Linked DNA regions of Homo sapiens: region 1 is linked to region 2. The links are contacts of gene promoters, found by promoter capture Hi-C in blood cells and fetal thymus (Javierre and others, 2016). All regions are on one chromosome and are shown on one strand. Each heading gives the region's core, a stretch centred on a gene start or on the middle of the fragment in contact. The rest is flanking DNA. Distances are from core to core; before and after follow the strand shown. Region 1 overlaps LRRC37B (leucine rich repeat containing 37B). Region 2 holds the start of RHOT1 (ras homolog family member T1).

The links. The method cuts DNA at HindIII sites, captures the fragments that hold promoters and counts their contacts. A CHiCAGO score of 5 or more calls a contact.
Region 1: a fragment that was not itself captured here is called in contact with the fragment with the promoter of RHOT1 in region 2 in 15 of 17 cell types (megakaryocytes, erythroblasts, M2 macrophages and 12 more); the score reaches 16.3 in megakaryocytes.

The regions. Positions count from the first base shown.
Region 1 is chr17:32,009,613-32,013,835 of GRCh38, forward strand. The region is part of intron 1 of LRRC37B (leucine rich repeat containing 37B); the gene reads left to right. Among named protein-coding and RNA genes, the nearest start is that of LRRC37B, 4.3 kb to the left of the region's middle. The HindIII fragment of the contact is 9,549 bases long and covers 1-4,223 here.
Region 2 is chr17:32,141,031-32,145,145 of GRCh38, forward strand. It overlaps RHOT1 (ras homolog family member T1), which reads left to right and starts at 1,472. Exons shown (of 20, transcript NM_001033566.3): 1 at 1,472-1,699. The coding sequence starts at 1,663. It overlaps LOC105371730 (a long non-coding RNA gene), which reads right to left and starts at 2,105. Exons shown (of 2, transcript NR_136413.1): 1 at 1,995-2,105; 2 at 196-1,683. RefSeq lists an enhancer at 803-972 and silencers at 1,433-1,662, 1,693-1,752. The HindIII fragment of the contact is 3,152 bases long and covers 1-2,007 here.

The DNA.
Region 1 (4,223 bases), core at 807-3,306, 130 kb before region 2:
CTTTCTTTATTGTTATTCTTCTTTTATTTTATTTTTTTAAGACAGAGTCTCGCTCTTTCACCCACGCTGGAGTGCAGTGGCATGATCTTGGCTCACTGCAGTCTGTCATTCCCCTCGACCCTGGGCTCAAGGTGATCCTCCCACCTCAGCCTCCCAAGTAGTTGGGACCACAGGTGCATGCCACCACCATGTGTGGCTAATTTTTGTATTTTTAATAGAGATGGGGTTTCGCTGTGTTGCCCAGGCTGGTCTTGAACTCCTGAGCTCAGGCAATCTGCCTGCCTTGGCCTCCCAAAGTGCTGGGATTAGAGACATGAGCCACCATGCCTGGCCAATTTCTTCTTATTGGGTAGTAAGAGTTCTTTATATATTTTGGATATAAGTGCTTTGTTAGGTTCTGTGATGCTCATATATTTTCTCCCCATCTGTGCCTTGTGTTTCATTGTCTTAGCAGTGTCTTTTTCCCAGAGCATAAGTTTTAAATTTGGATGAAGTCTGCTTTACCACATTTTTTCTTTTACAGATTTGTTGTTCATCTAACAACTCTGCCTAACCCAGATCTTGCCAGACTTTTTCTGTAAAAGGTCAGATAGTAAATATTCAGCCTTGCTGTCCCTGTTGCAGCTCTGCCATTGTAGCAATGAAAGCAGTCGTAGACAATATGTAATGTCTATAGAATGAGAATAGCTGTTCCGATAAAACTTTATGAACACTGCAGTTTGAATTTCACATAATTTACAAATTATCAATTATATTGTTATTCTTTTGATTATTACAAAAACGGGTAGTGGATTGGCCATGGTTTGCTGATTCCTGGCCTGACCAACCCAAGTTCACAAAGATTTTCCTCTTTGATTTTGTTGTGGTCGTTGTTGTTCCACACCTTCTTTTTTCACTGTTTCCTTAAGGTAGAGTGTACATATTTATAAGGGTACATGTAATATTTTGATAGATTCATACAATGTGTAATGATCAAATCAGGTTAATTAGGGTATCCATCATCTCAGATGTTTATCCTTTTTTTTGTATTGGGAAGATAACAAATGTTCTAGCTATTTTAAAATATACACTAAGTTATTGTTGACTCTAGTTACCCTACTGTGCAAACAAAAACTAAAACTTATTCCTTCTATCTGACTGTGCTTTTATGCCCATCAATCAACTTGTCTTCATCCCTACCTGCTTCCCAGCCCCCAGTAACCATCATTCTACTGCCTATCTCCATGAAATCAACTTCTTAATCTCTCACATATGAATGAGAATATGCGATACTTGTCTTTCTGTCCTTGGCCTATTTCACTTAACATAATGTCCTCCAGTTCTATCCATGTTGCTGCAAATAGGTTTTATTTTCCAAACCTCTAGCTTTATAGATGAAGGATTTCACTTTTTTTTTTTTTTTGAGATGGAGTCTTGCTCTGTCACCTAGGCTGGAGTGCAGTGGCACAATCTCGGCTCACTGCAACCTCCACCTCCTGGGTTCAAGCGATTCTCCTGCCTCAGCCTCCCAAGTAGCTGGGACTACAGGCACCCGCCACCACGCCCCGCTGATTTTTGTATTTTTAGAAGAGACGGGGTTTCACTATGTTAGCCAGTCAGTTCTCGAACCCCTGACCTCGTGATCCGCCTGCCTCAGCCTCCCAAAGTGCTGGGATTACAGGTGTGAGCCACCATGCCCGGCCCGGATTTCACTTTTTTAATGGCTGAATAATATCCTATCGTGCATATATACCTCATTTTCTTTGATTTTTCTTTCTTTCTTTTCAAATAGAGATGAGGTCTCACTATATTGCCCAGGCTGGTCTTGAACTTTAGGGCTCAAGCAATCTTCCTGCCTTGGCCTCCCAAAGTGCTGGGATTCCAGGCTAAACCATTGTGCTCCTTTATGCATTTTTCTTTTTTTAAGACAGAATCTAGCTCCGTTGCCCAGAATGGAGTGCAGTGGCACGATCTTGGCTCACTGCAGCCTCCACCTCCTGGGTTGAAATGATTCTCGTGCCTCAGCCTCCCGAGTAGCTGGGATTACAGGCACCCACCACCACGCCCAGCTAATTTTGGATTTTTAGTAGAGATGGGGTTTCACCATGTTGGCCAGGCTGGTCTCAAACTCCTGACCTCAGGTGTTTCACCTGCCTCGGCCTCCCAAAGTGCTGGGATTACAGGCATGAGCCACCGCGCCCAGCCCCTTTGTGCACTTTTAAAAACATATCTTAGAATTTGTGATATATGTTTTATTTTCATTTTCATTTGGTTCACAATATAGTAAAATTTCTATTATGACTTACTCTTTGACCCATGATTTGTTTTAAAACGTATTGTTTAATTTTCAAACATTTAGGGATTTCCCAGATATCTTTGTTGTTGGTTTCTAATTTGATTCCATTATGGTTAGAGACCATACTTGGTATGATGAATTAAAAAAAAAAATTTAGAGGTTTGTATATGGCCTGAAACATTTTTTAGGTGAGTGTTCAGTTTGTAATAGGAAAGATGTGTCCTGCTGCCGTTAGGTAAAGTGTTTCATAAGTAATAATTAGGTCAAGTTGGTTGATCGTGTTAAGGTCTGCTCTATCCTTGCTGATTTCCTGTCTGCTTGTTCTAGTGATTACTGAGAAAGGAGTGTTGAAGTCTACAACGATTGTTATGGGTTTGTTCTCTTTCTCCTTGAAATTCTGTCTGTTTATGCGTCCTGTATTTTGAGGCCCTGTTGTTAGATGCAGAAACATTTACAGTTTTGTCCTCTTGATGATTATTTGACCCCTTTATCATTCTGAAATAACCTTTATTTCTGGTAATAATCATTATACTAAAAACCATTATTTGGCCAGGCATGGTGGCTCACGCCTGTAATCCCAGCACTTTGGGAGGCCAAGGCGGGTGGATCACCTGAGGTCAGGAGTTCAAGACCAGACCGGCCAACATGGCGAAACCCCGTCTCTACTAAAAATAGAAAAACAGCCTGGTGTGGTGGCACACGTCTGTAGTCCCAGCTACTTAGAAGGTTGAGGCAAGAGAATCACTGGAATCCAGGTGGTGGATATTGCAGTGAGCTGAGATCACACCACTGCATCCCAGCCTGGGAAGCAGAGCAAGACTCCATCTCAAATAAATACATACATACAGGCCAGGTGCGGTGCCTCACGCCTGTAATCCCAGCACTTTGGGAGGCCGAGGAGGGTGAATCACCTGAGGTCAGGAGTTCGAGACCAACCTGGCTAAGATGGTGAAACCCCGTCCCTACTAAAAATACAAAAATGAGCCAGGCGCGGTGGCAGGCACCTGTAATCCCAACTACTTGGGAGGCTGAGGCAGGAGAATTGCTTGAAGCCGGGAGGCAGAGGTTGTAGTGAGCCGAGATCGTGCCACTGCACTCTAGCCTGGGTAACAGGGCAAGACCCCGTCTTGAAAACAGACAGACAAACAAAAAACCATTATTTAATACTAATATAAAATTAGTGTTTTATATTAGTAACATAATACTGTTTTTGACTAGTGTTAGAATGACATATCTTTCCCTACCCTTTTGCTTTTAATCTATATATCATGATATTCGTTTACTTTCAATTTATAAAAATAGAGATGGGGTTTTGCCATGTTGCCCAGGCTGGTCTTGAATTCCTGGGCTCAAGGCATCTGCCCACCTCAGCCTCCCAAAATGCTGGGATTATAGGTGTGAGCCACCATGCCTGGCCACATCATTATATTTTCAAATGGTTTCTTGTTTTTTTTATTTTTCTTTTAAATGTAATCTGACAGCATCTTTTAATTAATGTGTGTTGGACCATTTACATTTAATACGATTGATAATGACTGGATTTAGGTTTCCTATTTTATTATTTGTTTTCTGATTATCTCTTTTTTGGGGGGTTTCTTCTGTTTCTTTTTTCTGCCTACTTTTGGATTAATTGAATATTTTTTAGTGTTTTGTTTTATTAAATGGCTTTTGGTCATATCTGGGCTATGTTTTTGCTGTAGGAATTACAAAATATACACCTAACCTACCTACTTAGAGTTAGCCTTTTACCTCTAAATACAACGTCAAAGTATTGCAACCATATAGGTTTCTTTATTCTAGTCCCCCTCCCTTATAATTGTATATGTGTGTGTGTGTGTGTGTGTGTGTATCTATATACACTTTCAATGTATGTAGGTATATAGATATGTATCTATACTTTCAATGTATATCTACATGCATACATTGTATATGTATGTAGACATATATC
Region 2 (4,115 bases), core at 222-2,721:
AAAAAAAAAAATTAGCCGGGCGTGGTGGCGGACGCCTGTAGTCCCAGCTACTCGGGAGGCTGAGGCAGGAGAATGGCGTGAACCCAGGAGGCGGAGCTTGCAGTGAGCCGAGATTGCGCCACTGCACTCCAGCCTGGGCGACAGAGCGAGACTCCGTCTCAAAACAAAACCAAAACAAAACAAAAAATCTGTGGATTACAACTTTTTAGTGACTTTTTAATATAATAATGATAGCTGAGATCAGTAGAGCACACGCTCTGAGTCTGGCACTGTACCAAATGCTTGACAAGTATTATAGTATTTATTACTCACAACCATCTCAAGAGGAAGGTATTATCATCATTATTTCCATGCTACAGAAGAAGGAACAGTGGCTGAGGGAAGTAAAAATAAAAGCACTTAGTCGAGATCACAGAGCTATTATGTGGAGCCTAGATTCAAACCCAGGAAATTTGCCAGCAACTCTTAACTGCTGCAAGAGACCACATGACTTCTCCTAGGAGAAAGGGAAGTTGGTATTACGCACATTTCATTCCCTTTAAGTGTTTATTGTGTAATATTTAAGATAGAAAAAATGTACATTATGCACAGATAGTGCTTCCTCATTAATTTATGTATTTTATATTTCCCACTGTGTGCCAAGTATTAGGGATGTGATATATATTCGCACGCGTATGTATATATATATATTTGCCATTGTGTACCAAACATTAAGCATGTAACAACAAATTCCTCCAGATGGAGAGGGTCACGAGAAAATTAAGGCAATGTTAGAAAAATCATCTAGAGTTTATTATCGAGTGCCACCTCCGTGTCTAGCATTACGCTGGGTAAGCCTGAGTAAAGAAGAGTGTCCGAAAACCCTGCCATAAAATAAACTACATAGACAGAAAAAAAGTCACTTAGTTTGGTTATAAAGAAAGGAGTCTTGTTCACACAGCGTAAAAACGAATCTTATAATCGTATTTTATAAGCATCAGAGGCAAAAGCAACTAGGGTGACGGGCTTTGGGGAGTGGAAAGCGCCGGATCCTGGGAGCCAGTCGCCCTACTCGATCAAGCATTTTCTGACGGCCCTATCCAATAACGTGGGGACGCAGCTGAAAACCATGCAAGCTGATCGCTGCCCTCCCGGAGTTTATGGTCTGGTGAGAAGATCCCTGCTCTGAGTCACTGCCAAGCTCTAGCTATGTGACTTTGAACAGGGAATTTCTGTCCCTATCTATAAAATAAACGGGGTTAAACCAGGGAATCCGCCATTCAAATTCCTGGCCCAAGTGTCTCCGGGGTCGCGGTGCCCAAAGGAGGGTGGGCGAGGCTCCCTGGGCCTGCGCTGCGGCGGCCTGACAGCGGGAGCGCTGTTCCGGCGCAGAGCGCGTTCGCGTTCCGAAAGCGCGTGTCCCTCGCCGCGTGCCGTCGTCCCCGCCGCCGCCGCCGCCGCCGCCGCCGCCGCCGCCGCCGCCGCCGCCGCCACAGCCCGCTGGGCCGGAGGAGGCGGAGCTGGCGCTGTCCCGGCTCTCTTGCGGGGAAGCAACTGAGGGGGCGGCGCGGCGGGCCCCGGCGGCCGAAGAGGCTGGCAGGTGGCGCCGTGGGGTGGGTGCTCCTGGTGAGAGGAGTCCACTCCGTGCGTGCGGGCGGAGGCCGGCCCCCGAGAGCCGCCGACATGAAGAAAGACGTGCGGATCCTGCTGGTGGGAGAACGTGAGTCCGCACCCTCTGGCCGGCCCCTGAGTCCCTGCCCTCCCTGCCCCTGCAGCCCCTGTCGCCCCTGTCGCCCCTGCAGCCCCAACCTTTGCAGCCCCGGCCCTTCTCGCGCCTCACAGCTCCGCTCGCCTTTCTCCGCGTTCCTAGGCCTTCCAGCCCCTTCACTCTTCTCTTTTGGCTGGCCGCCGGCGGCCCTCACCCTGTCACCTCACCTGGGCCCTCCAGAGATCTCCTTTCCCTGTTCCCCAGCCGTCCTCCCAAGCCATGTCCCTATTAGCCCTAACCGCCCGACCTCATCCCTCCGAAGCTTCTCTCCTCCTTTTCCTCTTCGAACCCTGTCCTTCTGGGCCTCACAGTTTCCCAGGCCGCCTCCTTTCAGACCTTCTTGTCTTCTGGAGATTCCCTTATCACTGCCAGGCAGGTGCTGGAATAAGCAGACTGACCAATAGGGATTGCGTGAACCGGCTCCCGGGGAAGCTGGGGGAGGGGTGCAGAACTATTCGACTTGTGGGCAAGGTCAGGTTTCTGCATTTTTTTGGCACTCGCAGTCTTCACTCTCTCTATGTATTGACATTAAGATATGAGTAGTGGAAAGGGCCGGATCCTTTTTAGCAGTACTTGTACTTTGCATTGGACTAACTCCTCGTACTCGAGATATTTCATCAAAAATTTTTACTCAACTTCGAGTTATGCAAGCGCTCAATGAATTAGAATTATCTGGGGAGGGTCCAATTGTTGTTACCCTAAAGCGTAATCTTTGCCCTCTTTTTAAGCATTATTTATTCCATAGTTACTTCGTAGTTAACTTATTAATAACCACAGGCACACAGACATTTGATATCTCCCCCCACCCAGAAATTTCATACATTTCACCTTTTGAAAATATAATAAAGGAGAGTTCCCTCTGTTCACTGACATGAGGACGCAACAGCGGGGACTTCTTGATTTCACTCTGCAAGTTATGTAACTCAGTTGCTAGGACTAAAATAAGAAAGTGGGCCAGGGATAACTGGATTGTTTGTTTTAAAGAGTTAATACATTCGTTAATAGTCTGCCATTGCTGTTTCGAAGCATTCTGTTTTAAACCATTATTTCATTCTTGGTAACCCCTCAGGGTCACCGTGATGGAATCCCAAGGAAGAAAGTTAACACGTTTTTACCCTCTTCTGTAGTGTTCTTTGAGTTCATTGAAATTTCATCCACCTGCTGTTTGGAGAAATCTTCCTTTAGAATTAGAATTTAGGAGTAAGCTTAGCCAGCCATAGTTTACTTTTTGATTTGCAGTTGTAAATTTTTATTTTTATTTATAACTATATCTTAATCTGTATTTTTCATGGACTTCCTTGACAAGGTTCAGGAAGGTGTTATTTAACATATAATTCATGCTTATGCTTTTGGAGCAAGGTAGGGAAAGTGAGTAGACGACTTGCTTAAAAAACTGATCCTTAAATATATGATGAAATAGTTTGTTGTTGTTGTTGTTTTGAGACAGAGTCTCGCTCTGTCACCGAGGCTGGAGTGCAGTGCCTGGGATTACAGGCACTGTGGCTCATGCCTGTAATCCCAGCACTTTGGGAGGCCAAGGCAGGCAGATCACTTGAGGTCAGGAGTTCGAGACGAGCCTGGCCAACATGGTGAAACCCCGTCTCTACTAAAAATACGAAAATTAGCCGGGTGTGGTGGCACACACCTGTAGTCCCAGCTACTCTGGAGGCTGAAGCAGGAGAATCACTTGAACCCTGGAGGAGGAGGTTGCAGTGAGCTGAGACATGCCAGCCTGGGCAGCAGAGCAAGACTCTGTCTGAAAAAAAACCTTTAATAATGCTCCCACACAGCTGGGTGAGGTGGCTTATACCTGTATTCCAAGCACTCTGGGAGGCTGAGGCAGGAGGATCACTTGAGGCCAAGGAGTTTGAGACCAACCTGGGCAATGTAGTGAGATCCTGTCTCTACAAAAAATTTAAATATTAATGGCTGGGCACAGTGGCTCACTCCTGTAATCCCAGCACTTTGGGAGGCTGAGGCAGGAGGATTGCTTGAACGCAGGAGTTTGAGACCAGCCTGGGCAACATAGTGAGACCCCGCCTCAAAAAAAAAAAACCACAACACTATTAGCTAGGCATGGTGGTGTGCACCTGTAGTCCTAGCTACTGGGGAGGCTGAGATGAGAGAATTGCTTGAACCCAGAAAATCGAGGTTGCAGTGAGCCATGATCACACCACTGCACTTCAGCCCAGGTGACAGAGCAAGACTGTCTCTTAAAGAAAAAATTAATTTTTAATGGCTGGGCACAGTAGCTCATGCCTGTAACCCCAACACTTTGGGAGGCCAAAGTGGGCAGATCACCTGAGGTCAGGAGTTTGAGACCAGGAAACTGACCAACATGACGAAACCCAGTCTCTACTAACAATAC